5 separate regions of the Homo sapiens genome follow, and regions 1, 2, 3 and 5 are each linked to region 4. The links are contacts of gene promoters, found by promoter capture Hi-C in blood cells and fetal thymus (Javierre and others, 2016). All regions are on one chromosome and are shown on one strand. Each heading gives the region's core, a stretch centred on a gene start or on the middle of the fragment in contact. The rest is flanking DNA. Distances are from core to core; before and after follow the strand shown. Region 1 overlaps MDFIC (MyoD family inhibitor domain containing). Region 2 overlaps LSM8 (LSM8 homolog, U6 small nuclear RNA associated). Region 3 overlaps TES (testin LIM domain protein). Region 4 holds the start of THAP5 (THAP domain containing 5). Region 5 overlaps CAPZA2 (capping actin protein of muscle Z-line subunit alpha 2).

Region 1 (2,700 bases), core at 160-2,659, 6.4 Mb after region 4:
TTAATTTTGTATATTTTTCCGCCAGAAGCAGTCAGTTCCCTGCACCCAGCACCTCACAGCCCTTCCTCCGTGCGCCCTGCCGGGCGGCGAGCTAGGCGGCAGCGGCGCGGCGCGGGCTCGGCGGAGCGGCCCATGTCCGGCGCGGGCGAAGCCCTCGCTCCCGGGCCCGTGGGGCCGCAGCGCGTGGCCGAGGCGGGCGGCGGCCAGCTGGGCTCCACAGCCCAGGGTGAGTGCGCGCTTGCAAGTGGCAAGCTTCTTTGTCATTGTTGCATTTTTCAGTTTGCTCACAAGTGCACAGATAGGGGTGGGGGGAGTGCTGTGAGGAGGGGCTCCCACTCGTAGTTGAGAACTTTTGCACAGTTCGCGTTACTCAGGCAAGTTCTTCAGGATCCTTGCCCTAGATCAACAACCGGGTAAGAGGGCGGGAACCGTTGGTCCCTCCACTCCCCCTTCCTTTGGTTGCGAAGAAACAGGATGACAGGATTGCTTCTTTCTTAAGCATATGCATGTTTGGGCCTAAGACTCAATGTGTAGGTTCTGAAGCGCTTCTCCTCTAGGTCTCTTCAGCAGATCCAGGACTGCCGCAGCTCTCTGAACAAGCGTGCACTTACTCCATTTCATCTTTCTGTTTCTTGTTGGCTCCTCTACCACCCGGTTGATAATTCAGGTTTCTGTGACCAGTAGCTTTGGAATGGCTTATGCTTGTTTTCAATAACTGGTTTGTTTTGAAATAAATAAACAAGGTTTATAAGAAACACTTTCCAAGAATGAATTAGCTTCTTTGTGTTCTTCCAAAGTGTAAACACACACAGCCTATAAAATACTCTTGTGTCTGGGAAACTTCCATAACAAGCTTCTAAACGAGTTGAACCTTTCTTCTCTTGAAGGCAATATACTTTAGGTTTCCATTGGTGACAGAGAGGAAGGTTCTTAAACTTCTAATGCATTTTACTCTAAGGATGGTTTTGAGCTAAAGAATTCTGTCACTGATATATCAGAACTAAGTAATTTTTCCAGTGCTCAAAAACCTAGCATATACCCCTGATTTTAGGCATAAACTGATAGCTTTATTTCCCACTTGTACTAATGTAGTGAATCTTAGGGATTTTTTTTAAGGCAGCAAAAATTGGAGAAGGAGTTAACTTTCAAGCTGCAATAGGTAAAAGCAGAAAACATCTTGGTTAAATTAAAATGTTCTGGCACCCAGGGCTGTTAAACTGAATTACATTTATCATTATTTTTTGCCTCTAAATGAGTGACTCAGCTTTCTAAACAGAAAATAAAAATGATTAACTGCAGAAAATCAGAGAACTAGAATGATAAACATATGTTTTCTGAGAAGCAGCCCGTGTTCTCCACCTTGTATTGTCAGCACAATCATTTTCCTGTCATTAGGCATGCCCTTAGTAGTCATATCGACTCATTGATGGGCTGTTTATGCTCACACTTGAGCTGCTAATCACAATTGTTAAACCAGGCTTATGTCAAAAATCAACATCAAACACCCAAGGAAAATAATTTGACCTGGAAATAGCTAATATCTACAATATCCAACTTTAATAGTTTGCATTTCTAAAATCATCTGGGAGAATGTGCAGTGGTACTTAATGTACCTGTGCATTAGGATGCTGGATGGTGTCATGTGATCTGAACTTAAGAACCCGAAAATCTAGAGTGGCCTGAAGTACATTTGTTGGGTACAACACACGTTATCAGTGTAGAAACTCTTGGGTTATATTTTACCTGAAAATTGCCTTAGCTTTAGCAACATAGTTATACATTTTTATTATTATTAGTTTAACTTTGATCCAAAACTTTCTTTAAATAGGGATCAGTTTAATTTAAATATAAAGTTGATTTTTAAAAAGAGAGTCTGCAGAATCTTGTTAAAATATGATGTCTTAAACAGGCAGATGTCATAAGGTGTATTTAAAGAAAGAAATTCTTGGAGCAAATGGTTAGAGGAAAGCTTCAAGGGAAGCTTGGTTAGGTTGGTTTTATTGATAAAGACATTTGTGAAGAAGCTTTGCTCGAAGGCCACTCTACTCTTAAGCCTTTTCTCAAGTTCTTTTATCCTCTTGCTTCTGTCCTTGGATTCTTTATCATCCTTTCTGAAGAATAGCTTAATAATTCTACGGTAGGATATGGCTGCTTAGTTAACAGAAACCTAATTTTTAAATTCTTTATATTAAAGTCAGTAAGAAAAGTGGAATTTTAAATACAAATTAACAGAAAAAAATATTATTTCAGGAACATGAAGGATATGATCAAGTCTACCCCTGCAAAGTTAAATATATATATATAGGTAAATAATGACATTACAAGCTCTACATTTATTACTATACTATATTGTGATGAGCTATCCATACTGTTAACCAAAGGCATGAAACATTACAGTTGAAAGTAATTTTGGGGATTCTCTAATCTGAACTCCACATCAAGTCTAAAATTCAATTCTACATCCTTTTAGGTGTTTTGTTAAAAACCTGTAGTGAAGCCCATTCTAGTATTAGCATTAAGAATTAGAAAGGTTGTCCATATTAAGAGCATACTCTTCCTCCTTAAAGTTTCTACCTTTTTGTTGTGGTTCTGCAAGGCTTTCTATTGTTTTGAAAGCATTAAAAAGCATTACAAATCTTTCCCATGTGTTTTGAAAATAGTTACAGAGCAGGGACATAAGCTTACATGCTCCAGGCTGTA
Region 2 (2,700 bases), core at 48-2,547, 9.6 Mb after region 4:
ACACCAATTCAAAAAAAAAAAGGCCGGGCACAGTGGTTCAAGCATGTAATCCCAGCACTTTGGGAGGTGGAGGCGGGTGGATCACTTGAGGTCAGGAGTTCGAGACCAACTTGGCCAATGTGGTGAAACCGCGTCTTTACTAAAAATATAAAAATTAGCCAGGCGTGGTGGCGCAAGCCTGTAATCCCAGCTACTCGGGAGGCTGAGTCAGGAGAATTCGCCTGGGAGGTGGAAGTTGCAGTGAGCCGAGATCGCAGCACTGCATTCCAGCCTGGGCAACAAGAGCAAAACTCCGTGTCAAAAAATAAAAAAGAAAAGTGGCTAATGTGGTTCACGTGCCGTGGCTCATGCCTATAATCTCAGCACTTTGAGAGGCCAAGGTGGGTGGATCACCTGAGCCCAGGAGTTCAAGACCAGCCTGGCCAGCATAGTGAAACCCCGTCTCTCCTTAAAATAGAAAAATTAGCCTGGTGTGGTGGTGCATGCCTGTAATCCCAGCTACTTGGGAGGCTGAGGCAGAAGAATTTCTTGAACCTGGTAGATGGAGGTTGCAGTGAGCCAAGGTTGCGCCTTTGCACTCCAGCCTGGGCAAAAAGAGTGAAACTCCATCTTGAAAAAAAAAAGAAAAGTGGCTGATGTGACAGAGGAACTGAATTTTAAATTTTATTTAATTGTAATTAATTTTAATAGTTACATGTGGCCAGTATTAGTATAGTTATAGAGGCTAGAAGAATGCCAAATCAGTTTTCTAGTGAGTACTACACTGAATCAAAATATAGTTGGAAAGAAGCAAAAGATACATTAGCAATTTTAAGCTAGAACATTTAACAAATTCTAGGGGACTAACTGTCCCCTGGAATAACTTAAAAAGTGCAGGAATAATTTACTCATTTAAGTTGTTTATGTTAGCATCACCTTTAGATGAATAAATAATTTGATCTGTAATCAAAAATCAAGAGTTTATAAAATATTTTAGAGATGACTTTTAGGTGGAGTTACAAGGTGAGCTGTAAGTAATGAGAGAGAGACAGAGCAGATAGGGCCCAGGTCTCTGGATCAGAACAACACTGTTTATATTGGAGCTGTGCATAGTAATTGATTTTAAGGTTTCTCCTACTTAAAACAATTTTTTTTTCTTGAACTTCAGTGAAAAAAGTCTTGTGCTAGAGCCAGCTTCTACTGGCCCATGAAAGCATATTGTTATATTTTAAGGAATTTTACAAGCTGGTTAATTGATGTCTTGTTAGTAGCTTGAAATTGGCCGTGGTGGGAGTGTTTGCACAATGGATATTAGTAAATGCAGCAAATCAGTCTCCCGCTTTTTTTCCAGAGAGCTGGTTTTTAAAAATGTATCAGCATTTCCCTGCTTACCATAGGGATTTTAAATGATACTGAATATTATCATTTAAAATTTAAGAATATTTAAGAGTGGAATTGAGGCCTTTAGTTTGAGAAAACTTAATTCATTCTGCCAGAGTTTCATATTTTTCATTTATTAGATGATTTAAGACTTTATATACTTTAAAGCAAAATTTGGCAAATCCCTTATTACTAGTATTCGTCTTTAGAATTTGGCCGGGCACAGTGGCTCACACCTGTAGTCCCAGCACTTTGGGAGGCTGAGGCTGGCGAATTACCAGAGGTCAGAGGTTCGAGACCTGCCTAGCCAACGTGGTGAAACCCTGTCTCTACTAAAAATACAAAAATTAGCCGGGTGTGGTGGCATGCGCCTGTAATCCCAGCTACTCGGGAGGCTGAAGCATGAGAATCGCTTGAACCTGGTAAGTAGAGGTTGGAGTGAGTCAAGATCGTGCCACTGCACTCCAGCCTGTGCAACAAGAGCGAAACTCTATCTCAAAAAAAAAAAAAAAGAATTTACTCTCATTAAAACCAAACAAATGTAAACCCAACCAATACTTTTTAAAAATAATATTTCATAGACATCTTGTGGTCTGAGTGATAACATTGAATATTTCCAGTTAGAGGGCTATGGGTTGGTTATCTAGCGTGGTATTAATGAATTTAAAGTTATAGATACTATGTTAGTGTTGAACAAGAAAAAATTTTCTAGCTTTTAACCTGAGCCAATCACGTCAAAAATGATTTGTTAGATACCAAAGTACTTGTTCCTACTATTATTTTTGTATATGAAGAACTGGCTTTGGATTTAACTGAAAACTTAGGAAAACAATCTAATCGCTGTTGTCTATATCATTGATTTAATTCATCAAAGTTACTCAAATGATTGATATTTTTACTTGCTAATTATTTTAGGAGTGATTTTGTGAAATTTATTTTTAATACAGTCCTAGAATTGAATTGAAATATGGTTTGGAAGTTTGAGGGTTTTTTACTGTGTCTATCCTTGTGTGTCTGTTTCCTTTAAAGATTCATGATACAATCACTGTGTACAATGTGTCCTTTAATATTGGTTCCTGTAATAATGTGCCTTCAAATTATTTCTTGAGTTTTGTGACTTAAATATGCAGTTCACTGACTCACGCCAATGTTGTTTGCTTTTTACCTTAATTCTTTTTACTGTGCTCTCTCAGTTTTATTTTTTGGAAGAATGGTACTCAGTGCTTTGATTTGATTAGTAAGATTTTTGAAACACATGTAATTTATTTCAGAAATGTGATTGTTTTAACTCTGACTTTTTTAGTGCAGTCATTGGAGAAATCGATGAAGAAACAGATTCTG
Region 3 (2,785 bases), core at 198-2,697, 7.6 Mb after region 4:
TGAAGAACCTATAGATTGAACCAAATAATTTTTTTCCACAAATCTTAGCTATTTTCAACTTGTTTGTACTTAATTTTCATAATATTTGTGGAGGTATTTGAAGATATTAGGTTAAGTTTAATTAATTTAAATCTGTAGTATAAGGCTCTGAAGGCTGTAATAGTGTGGGTCCCATAAGTCTAGGAGTGATGTATTACTTACCTTGGTATTTAATTATGGGAAAATGAAAAATAATGGAACATTTATTTTCTTTAAAAGTTATCTCTCTCAAAATAAGGCTGTTAAAATAATTTTAAAAGATTAAAAAAAAACTATATGAGTGCTTTTTTACGTACCATGCACTGTTCTAGACTCTGGGGTTATAGTTGTGAACAAGAATGACACTGAACTTAAGCTTGTATCATAGAATTATGCTATTGCAAGTGTTGATAGAGCAATGTAAATATTGAAAGTAAGCACAACTGGAATTATACCCGTCAGTGAACTCTTGATAGGTTAGCAGTACGCTATGTTTCTAACACAGACAGTGAGCAATTTTGATGGTGATCCCTGGGCTTGATTCTTGGTTTTGCAAACTTTGTAATTAGGGATTCTTATTTCATTTGTCTTAAGTAATAGCAAATGTAAAAGATGGGAAAATGAGAAAGCAGCTTTTATGTATTAGAATGTGAAAAAGATTATGAATGCATAAAGCTATACAAATAGACTTACACCTATAATATACACAAACTATAAGTCTTCTCCCTGCCTACAAATGCCTTACAAAAGAGTCATTCTTGGATTTCCTGTTTGCAGTCATAGCTAATTTTTGTTTGGTAACTACTGCCATGGTAACCAAAATTATGATTTTAAAAGAATTGTTTATTAAATCATTAATATACAGGAAATTATTTTACTTTTTACAAGGTGGTGGTATCCAGAGAAATTATATTATTAATTATGAAATCAACTTTTTCTAGGAGAGGAAGATAAGGAAACAAAAGACTAATCAAAAACATTGCAAAACTGCAGATTTTCAGGATTTTAAAGAAAAATAATTTGGTAATTGATAACTTCACTACTGTTCTTTGAGTAAATATCCATGTTTAAAATTTGCCTCAAGCACTATTAGAGGATTAAATTTAGAGGTTATGCTTTTCAACTGCCCAACTACAATCTTTGACTCTCCTACAAAAGAGCTGCCATTTAGCATGGTTTTGTCAATTTTCAGTTCTAAGTGCCCTGTCTACCTAACATTCTAGTTAGATAATGGGGAATTAGAGCGATAAGGATATGCATGACTATAATTTTCTAAGTATCACTGTATTTATTTTGGTCAAATTCAAAAAAGTAAAAAAGCATAGTTTAGAATTGCCAATTTCTCTGTTCCTTAGTCTGTTAGAATGGTGGGGAGTCGGCTCAGATTTGAGCATGGCTTAAAGTGGGAGAGCGTTATTAGAAGCCAGCCTAGTGGGGATTGCTGAGATCTCATCTGCTGAATGACAGCAAAGTTACTACTCTGTAAATATACTTAATCTGAAATGCTGAATTATCCTCAAACCATGAGTGATTCAGCTTGTGTTTATCATTGTGACATTCTGGCCACTGTGAAAAGCTGTAAACAGGAGTTTCAGGGTGTTCATTGCATAGCTTATCTGAGCAGCGAGCCCAGCAGAAAAGATGGCATTCAGCCCAGCAGAAATGCCTTGATAAGGAGTCCATTAATGCATCTCTAGCCACAATGAACTTTTCCCTTGCTTTGTTTGATGATAAAGTGATATCATGTTTCATTGAAAAATGACCATGTAGATGTTAGGTGGATTTTTGTTTTTATATGACCACAACGTGACAGTCTTAACAGAATGAGTCACAAAGTAAGGATCAAGGATCTGATTTTTCCTTTATGAGATACTGGCCTACAATAAAAATAACTGGGGGTTAAAAAAATTACCCTTTGTTTTTCGTAGAGAATATTAAAAGTGCAGTTTAGATTTAAAACTACAGACTCTAAACTCCATATCTATCAGTATCACCTCTTGAGCAAAATACCGATGTCACCTTTGATAGATTTTTTTTTAAAAAAGGAAGGAAGATGAGTGAGCAAAACAGATGTGTAAGTTAACTACAGTGCTGGATAGAATGACATAAGTGCTATAATACAATTTCTTATCTGGGATGAGGAACCTTTTTATAAACAAAAATTAATCATTGGTTGATATTTTTAAAAACACAATAAAAATTTATTACTTAAAAGACAAATACAGGGCCAATTAAAAAAATTATTAAATGCAAGAGACACAAAATTACTTTAAGTATATAGTAGTTCCTAATTGCCTACTGTCAGTTTCTCTGCCTATCTCATCACAGACTAGTGACTTACACTTTGTGAACTGCCACTTTGAGTAGCACAGCAATAATAGAAATACAAACAACTGTTATGAAGTCTTAGAAGCAGAAGTAACTAACTTTAATTGTGTGGGTTGCGATTATTTTATCAAGGAAACACCTCCTATAGAATAAAGAAGCTTTCATTAGGCAAAGAAAGCATTCCATAAAGAGGAAATAGCATGAACCAAAGGTACCTGGCTGTGAAAAGTCAGTAAAACCACCCTTGACATTTTCAGTTTTGTCTCTTCTAAAATAAAGCTAAAGTAGATGAGCTGCAGTAATTTGTAATTTTTCCACAGTACAGGTTTGAATTAAAGAGGTATGTCACTGAGCTAGTATAAGACCCTAGCCCACAGCTGAAGAGTTTCTGATCTCCCTTAACTGTGATGATTATTTAATACATTGTGTCATCTATTGA
Region 4 (2,700 bases), core at 86-2,585:
AATTTTGTATTTTTAGTACAGACGGGGTTTCTCCATGTTGGTCAGGCTGGTCTCAGACTGCCGACCTCAGGTGATCTGCCCGCCTCAGCCTCCCAAAGTGCTGGGATTACAGGCGTGAGCCACCGCGCCTGGTGGGGTTATCAATTTTTTTTCCATTAATTAAAATACTGGAAAGCAGCCGAATCATTAATGAATAAGTCCTTCAGGTCTAAAGTAAAATGAGCACAAAACAACTGCTGAAAATCTGAACCAGGTTAGATCTAAATGAATTGTTTTTAAATACAAGAAAAAATGGAAATGCAGTATTTTAAATATGTTGCTTTTCATGTGTTATTAATCATGTGAGTACTATTAACATCTCCATGTTACAGATGAGATATGTGAGACACCAAAGCTTAAATACTTTCCAAGAGGTCATTAAGCTACAGAATAGTGGAACCAGGATCTAGCATTGAAGCCTGGACCCCTAATTATTATACGACACTGCTTGTCTGTACTTCTGAATAAAAATCAGTGCTTCAGTAGTTTGATGGAAATATATCGTGGCTCTAGTAATTCAGAGTAACAGAATAAAACCTTGTTCTCCGCAGAGTATCTACAGCCCTAAGCAGAAGACTAGTTTATAATTCTGGCTCTGACACTAAACTTTCAAGGTCGGTTACCTAATCATTCCGGGCCTCAGTTTCCTCAGGAGAAAAGTGGGATGAAATTATACCTATGCGACCTACCTCGCGGGGGGTGTAAATTAACTTTGCGTGCACCTTTCCACTTCGCAGGTTTCACGTATCTTAAATGGTGGTTAATGTTGTTCAATGAAATGAGATCACGTGAAGTGGGGAAAAGACTGAAAACCACAGAAGCCCGCGCAAACTTTACTGTTTTAACTGTTAACACCCAAACAGGCTCCTGGGCCTCGCCACCAGCCAGCAGTCCTCGCGCAAGAAGGGCATTGCTAGCTAAACTGAACTAGCGCCTTCCCTCCGTCTTGCCGCGGGCGACGGGCCACGTACGGAGAGCTGAGGACTCACTGGCAGAGCGGACAGGAGACACCCAAGCCCAAAGGCCACAGGTCCAAGGCCTCACGGCGAGGCTGACGCTTCTGCTCCAGAAACAACTTACGGATAAAAACTCAGCTTCCGGTCTTTATTGTTTCGTCCCCGGCGGTTCTTACAACAAATCGCTGCGCAATAGCGGGGCATGACTCGGGTGAGGCCCCTGGAGACCGGGGCCGGCGACGGATGCAGGGCGGCCCTCCTCACTGAGGATGCGCCACAGGTCCAGGCCTCTCGAGCCCCTGCGCCTGCGCTAGCATTCTGCCGGGAAAGCCGCCTCGTCTGTCGACTCACTTCCGCCTCCTCCGGTTTAAGCACCGCCTTTTCGGGGGTTGAAGCCGGAAGTGGCGCACAGCCCTAGCAGCAACAACAGTTTTCCACGTGCGCGTAGGGCGCCGGGATCACGTGGGGAGGCAGAAGCCAATGGGGAAGCGTTTCGTGTAGGTCTTCTGAGGTGGTGGCGCCAGCGGCTACCTCCTGCCTGTGAGGAGCTGGCTGAGAGGGGACTGGGCGCCGGCGGGGAAGGAGGAGCGCTAGGTCGGTGTACGACCGAGATTAGGGTGCGTGCCAGCTCCGGGAGGCCGCGGTGAGGGGCCGGGCCCAAGCTGCCGACCCGAGCCGATCGTCAGGGTCGCCAGCGCCTCAGCTCTGTGGAGGAGCAGCAGTAGTCGGAGGGTGCAGGTGAGGGACGAGGCCGGGGTCGTGGGGAGGGGAGTTCGGAGGGTCCCCGTAGCCCAGGCCTGTCTTTGTGAGCTGACTTGGCCTCGGTGTCCGCCACGGTCGCCGCAGGGACAATGGGCTGCATGTTTTTGGCCGAGAGAATGGAAGAACGGAGACAGCCGCATCACAGAATCGTGTTTTGGGTTGTGGCGCCGGCTTTCACGGGCGCCGGATTAGAGCCCGGGTCTCGGGCAGCTTCTGCGGCGGGGCCTGGGCGGGCAGGGAAAGTGCCAGTCGCCTTTAGGTGAAGGTTGGAGGGTCTAGCCCAGCCGCCCACCGAGGCTGGGGAATAAGGCACGGGCTGCTGGCTGGCGGGGCCGTCTTGGGGATGAGAAGTCTGTACAATACAAAACTAGTCTGCTAAAAAAAAATCATTAGATGTCCACCTTGAGACCGTGGAATAACGTCTGCTGAACCAGTGAGGCGCCTCCCTGTCAGTTTTAGATCCGCCCTTTGACTAGGGAGCAACCTGCAGTTGACGCAGCGTCCATGGGACACACTGTTGTGTTCCTTAAACCGAGAAGTGGTTCTTGATTCTTGGTACCCGTGACTACGAGTAACTCTCTGGAAATAAGTAATCTACCTGCCTGCTAATTACTCTCAGGAAAGGCCGCTGGAGAGGAAGCCAGGCAATTTCCACAAACCGTAGTGTTTTTCGTCAGCCTTATTATGGCATTATAGGTTACTAAGGACTCTGGTGGTCCCGTATTCAAAAAACAGGATCCATCCCTTCGTTTTGAATCTCAAGTCATTGAATACATATTGTCAAGAATTCTAAGTTAACATTTCTTTAATGGTTTAAAGGTAAAAGAAATATTTTAACTACTGAGTTTGTGAAAGTAAGAATCTGCCTTAACCACAGTACAAACTATCAAAGTTCATTTTTCTGGCAGCTTTAGCAGAAATCTTAAATTCTGTTCATCATGAG
Region 5 (2,780 bases), core at 10-2,509, 8.3 Mb after region 4:
ACTTTTTTTTTGTAAGAGAACATTCTAGGGTGTATAAGGGAAATGATTCAGAAGGGAAAAGGAAATTGAAAACGTAAGATAAAGAATAGTTTACATAACTTACTTTCTTTTAGTTGATGATAATGCCTACTTTGGATTCATGGGTTTCTTCATATTTTAAATAAATGGTAAAAACATATTTAAAGAAGAATCAATGTTGAGTTCTTTAGATGACCCAGTTTCAGGTTAAGTGCTGTGGGCCCTGTTTTTAATTACCAATCAAAATGATAATTATAAAGGAAAAAAATTTAGAGGAAAACTTATTAAAACAAATTACCACTCTTAAGTTTACCCATATTAAGATAAATTCACCTGACACACAGACATGTGATAGTGATCACTTGGTCATAAACTATTTAAATGTCATAAAGTTCAAAAAAGTGGTTTTTTCCTCCGGTTTTACCTCTAATTCTCAAAAGACATAGCCATTTTTTAGAGAGCTGTGGAAGACAACTTCAAATAATTCTTTTAGTTGAAGTGGAAAAGTGCATAGTGGCTCCTTTAATTTTACTACCAGTGTCTAAAGCAGTGACCCTTTTTGGTGTTACATTTTCTTGAGAATCAAGTAAAACCTATAAGTCATTTCTCAAGAAGACTAGACACTTCAAATTTTACATCTGAAGTCCCTTAGGGCATGGGTGCAATATCTGGTCACCTTTCAGAATCACGTGGAGAGATTTTCTAAAACATAGATTTCTAGGTCCCCATTCTCTGGAGATAGATTCACTGGGTCTGGAATAGAGGGTGGGAATCTGTATTTTTTCCAAGCTTTCCAGGTGAGTCTGACTGCCGTTCATATCTGAAAAATTCCTACCCTAATGTCTCCTTCCTTGATCATGGCGGCCCATACCATGTGGAAATTATAGGGGCTCTAGGTAGGATTCTCAGATAAAATACTGATGCCTCAGTAAATTTGAATTTAAGCTAAACGGTGAGTCATTTTTAGTATAGCTATTTCCCATAGTAGTGTACCTTTGGACTGCTGGAGAGTGCAGGGTCCTTTGCTTCTAAATTTAATGGCTCTAGATGGCTGTTTGGGGGTTTTGTTTTTTGTTGTTGTTTTTTGGTGGTGTGTATGTGTGTACATGTATGTCTGTGTGCTACCATGCACATACATTGTCTGCTTTTTATACTTTCATCTCCTTTAAACCTTGCTTAAGGTTTAAAAAAATTTTTTTTAATTTTTGTTAGTTTACCATTTTTATAGCTGCTTTGGTGAGGACTCTATTTCCTGTTAAGGAATTGTTTTCTTCAGACAGTTTTAAAATCTCCTGGAACTCAAGTTTTACCTTAGTGTTTGAAAACATGTTGCCAAATGTTCAGCAAAGGCACTAGAACAATCTGGAGAATTCATGGACATAAGCAGGTGAAGTAACATTAATTTTGCCATCTATTTCTGTAAATTGTGGTAATGATTGACAACCCACAGTAAACTCTCACGTTGTACCCTCATGTTCTAGATGGTAATTATAAAACTGAAGTAGCACTACCAATTGCTTCTGACTTCCAGTAATAAACACATCTTGAAGAGGTGACATAGGCTGAGGGAACCCAGTCACTTCCACCTGTGGTACTTCACCATGGAGCTTGTCTTTGCTTGAGAAAGGTACATTCTGTACCATTAATGCAAAGAGTGACACAGTCAAGGATTGCAAGGCAGAAAGATACATGTGAAGCTTATGTTCATCCAGCCCTCCTTCCCTTTGTTCTCTTTCCCTGATAAGTTTTTCAGTCTTATTCAGCAATGTAGGTGTAAGATTGTACATTTCCAAATTCCATATTCCAAGTATCATAGGCCATTAAAAGTACTAGATGTTTTGCACTCACTACTTTTTCTGAGATATCACTCAAGGCCAAAGGCAACAATTCAAAAACCTGCTGATACTTGCCTGGTTCATCAGGGTATCCCATAATGATACCAAGGCTTTTGATCACAGCTTCTCATATCAAATATGCTTTACCTTCCATTTAAGGAGGACCAGGGAGTTAGGAACTTCTTGAGGAAAGTAAGGCACCACTACTCCACAGGATTTAGCTACAAGTAGTGTCCTTTTTGGGTCTTTGTGACTCACCTCTTCCCATCACTGTGGTAAATGTTCGGCTTCTGCATGTGTTGGTCCGACATGATGTGTGAATGCCGTAACACCAGTTAGTATCACTTGCCTTGGCTCTTTATCTGGCCTCTTGATCATACTAGAAAGAATGTGGAGAAGCTGATTTTTCTTTTTAGATTCAAGATGTAGGCACGTTGTATACAATCTGAGGGCATCAGTGTCTCTGTCTTTGCCAGCAGCACGTCAAGTGCAATGTATAGCAAGCAATATCCAAGCATCAGCAGAAGGTGTTTTTCACTGCAGTCAGAGACACTTCTGATCCTAAGCAGCATCTCCTGACACTTGACAAAAAGAAAGTAGTGCATAGTGGAAAGCAGAAGACAGTTTCCTGTGGGGTTTATCAAAGTGAACTGTGCTTTTACTTGATGGAGAAAACAGCATTCTTTCCTTTCTCTCCTAAGGGAAGGGACTGGGGAATTCTCTCTAAGAATAATGGAATTAGGCTGGGCACGGTGGCTCATGCCTGTAATCCCAGCACTTTGGGAGGCCAAGGTGGGTGGATCACTTGAGGTCAGCAGTTCGAGATCATTCTGGCCAACATGGAGAAACCCCGTCTCTACTAAAAATACAAAAATTAGCCAGGTATGGTGGTGCTCACCTGTAATCCCAGCTACTTGGGAGGCTGAG

Evidence for each region. The method cuts DNA at HindIII sites, captures the fragments that hold promoters and counts their contacts. A CHiCAGO score of 5 or more calls a contact.
Region 1: a fragment that was not itself captured here is called in contact with the fragment with the promoter of THAP5 in region 4 in 1 of 17 cell types (naive CD8 T cells); the score reaches 5.1 in naive CD8 T cells.
Region 2: a contact is called between a fragment that was not itself captured here and the fragment with the promoter of THAP5 in region 4, in 1 of 17 cell types (non-activated CD4 T cells). The highest score is 6.6, in non-activated CD4 T cells.
Region 3: a fragment that was not itself captured here is called in contact with the fragment with the promoter of THAP5 in region 4 in 2 of 17 cell types (non-activated CD4 T cells and activated CD4 T cells); the score reaches 5.4 in non-activated CD4 T cells.
Region 5: a contact is called between a fragment that was not itself captured here and the fragment with the promoter of THAP5 in region 4, in 1 of 17 cell types (non-activated CD4 T cells). The highest score is 6.3, in non-activated CD4 T cells.

Annotation. Positions count from the first base shown.
Region 1 is chr7:114,922,902-114,925,601 of GRCh38, forward strand. It overlaps MDFIC (MyoD family inhibitor domain containing), which reads left to right. Exons shown (of 5, transcript NM_001166345.3): 2 at 26-226. The coding sequence starts at 133. Among named protein-coding and RNA genes, the nearest start is that of MDFIC, 2.2 kb to the left of the region's middle. RefSeq lists a silencer at 73-212. The HindIII fragment of the contact is 1,116 bases long and covers 852-1,967 here.
Region 2 is chr7:118,189,250-118,191,949 of GRCh38, forward strand. LSM8 (LSM8 homolog, U6 small nuclear RNA associated) reads left to right here. Exons shown (of 4, transcript NM_016200.5): 4 at 2,663-2,700. Among named protein-coding and RNA genes, the nearest start is that of LSM8, 6.4 kb to the left of the region's middle. RefSeq lists a silencer at 1,609-1,824. The HindIII fragment of the contact is 5,131 bases long and covers 1-2,700 here.
Region 3 is chr7:116,216,651-116,219,435 of GRCh38, forward strand. All of the region lies in intron 1 of TES (testin LIM domain protein), which reads left to right. Among named protein-coding and RNA genes, the nearest start is that of TES, 7.5 kb to the left of the region's middle. The HindIII fragment of the contact is 2,110 bases long and covers 393-2,502 here.
Region 4 is chr7:108,568,371-108,571,070 of GRCh38, forward strand. It overlaps THAP5 (THAP domain containing 5), which reads right to left and starts at 1,336. Exons shown (of 3, transcript NM_001130475.3): 1 at 1,120-1,336. The coding sequence starts at 1,199. It overlaps DNAJB9 (DnaJ heat shock protein family (Hsp40) member B9), which reads left to right and starts at 1,504. Exons shown (of 3, transcript NM_012328.3): 1 at 1,504-1,733. RefSeq lists enhancers at 919-1,398, 932-1,659. The HindIII fragment of the contact is 6,219 bases long and covers 393-2,700 here.
Region 5 is chr7:116,872,213-116,874,992 of GRCh38, forward strand. All of the region lies in intron 1 of CAPZA2 (capping actin protein of muscle Z-line subunit alpha 2), which reads left to right. It also overlaps the pseudogene LOC100418716. Among named protein-coding and RNA genes, the nearest start is that of CAPZA2, 11 kb to the left of the region's middle. The HindIII fragment of the contact is 908 bases long and covers 806-1,713 here.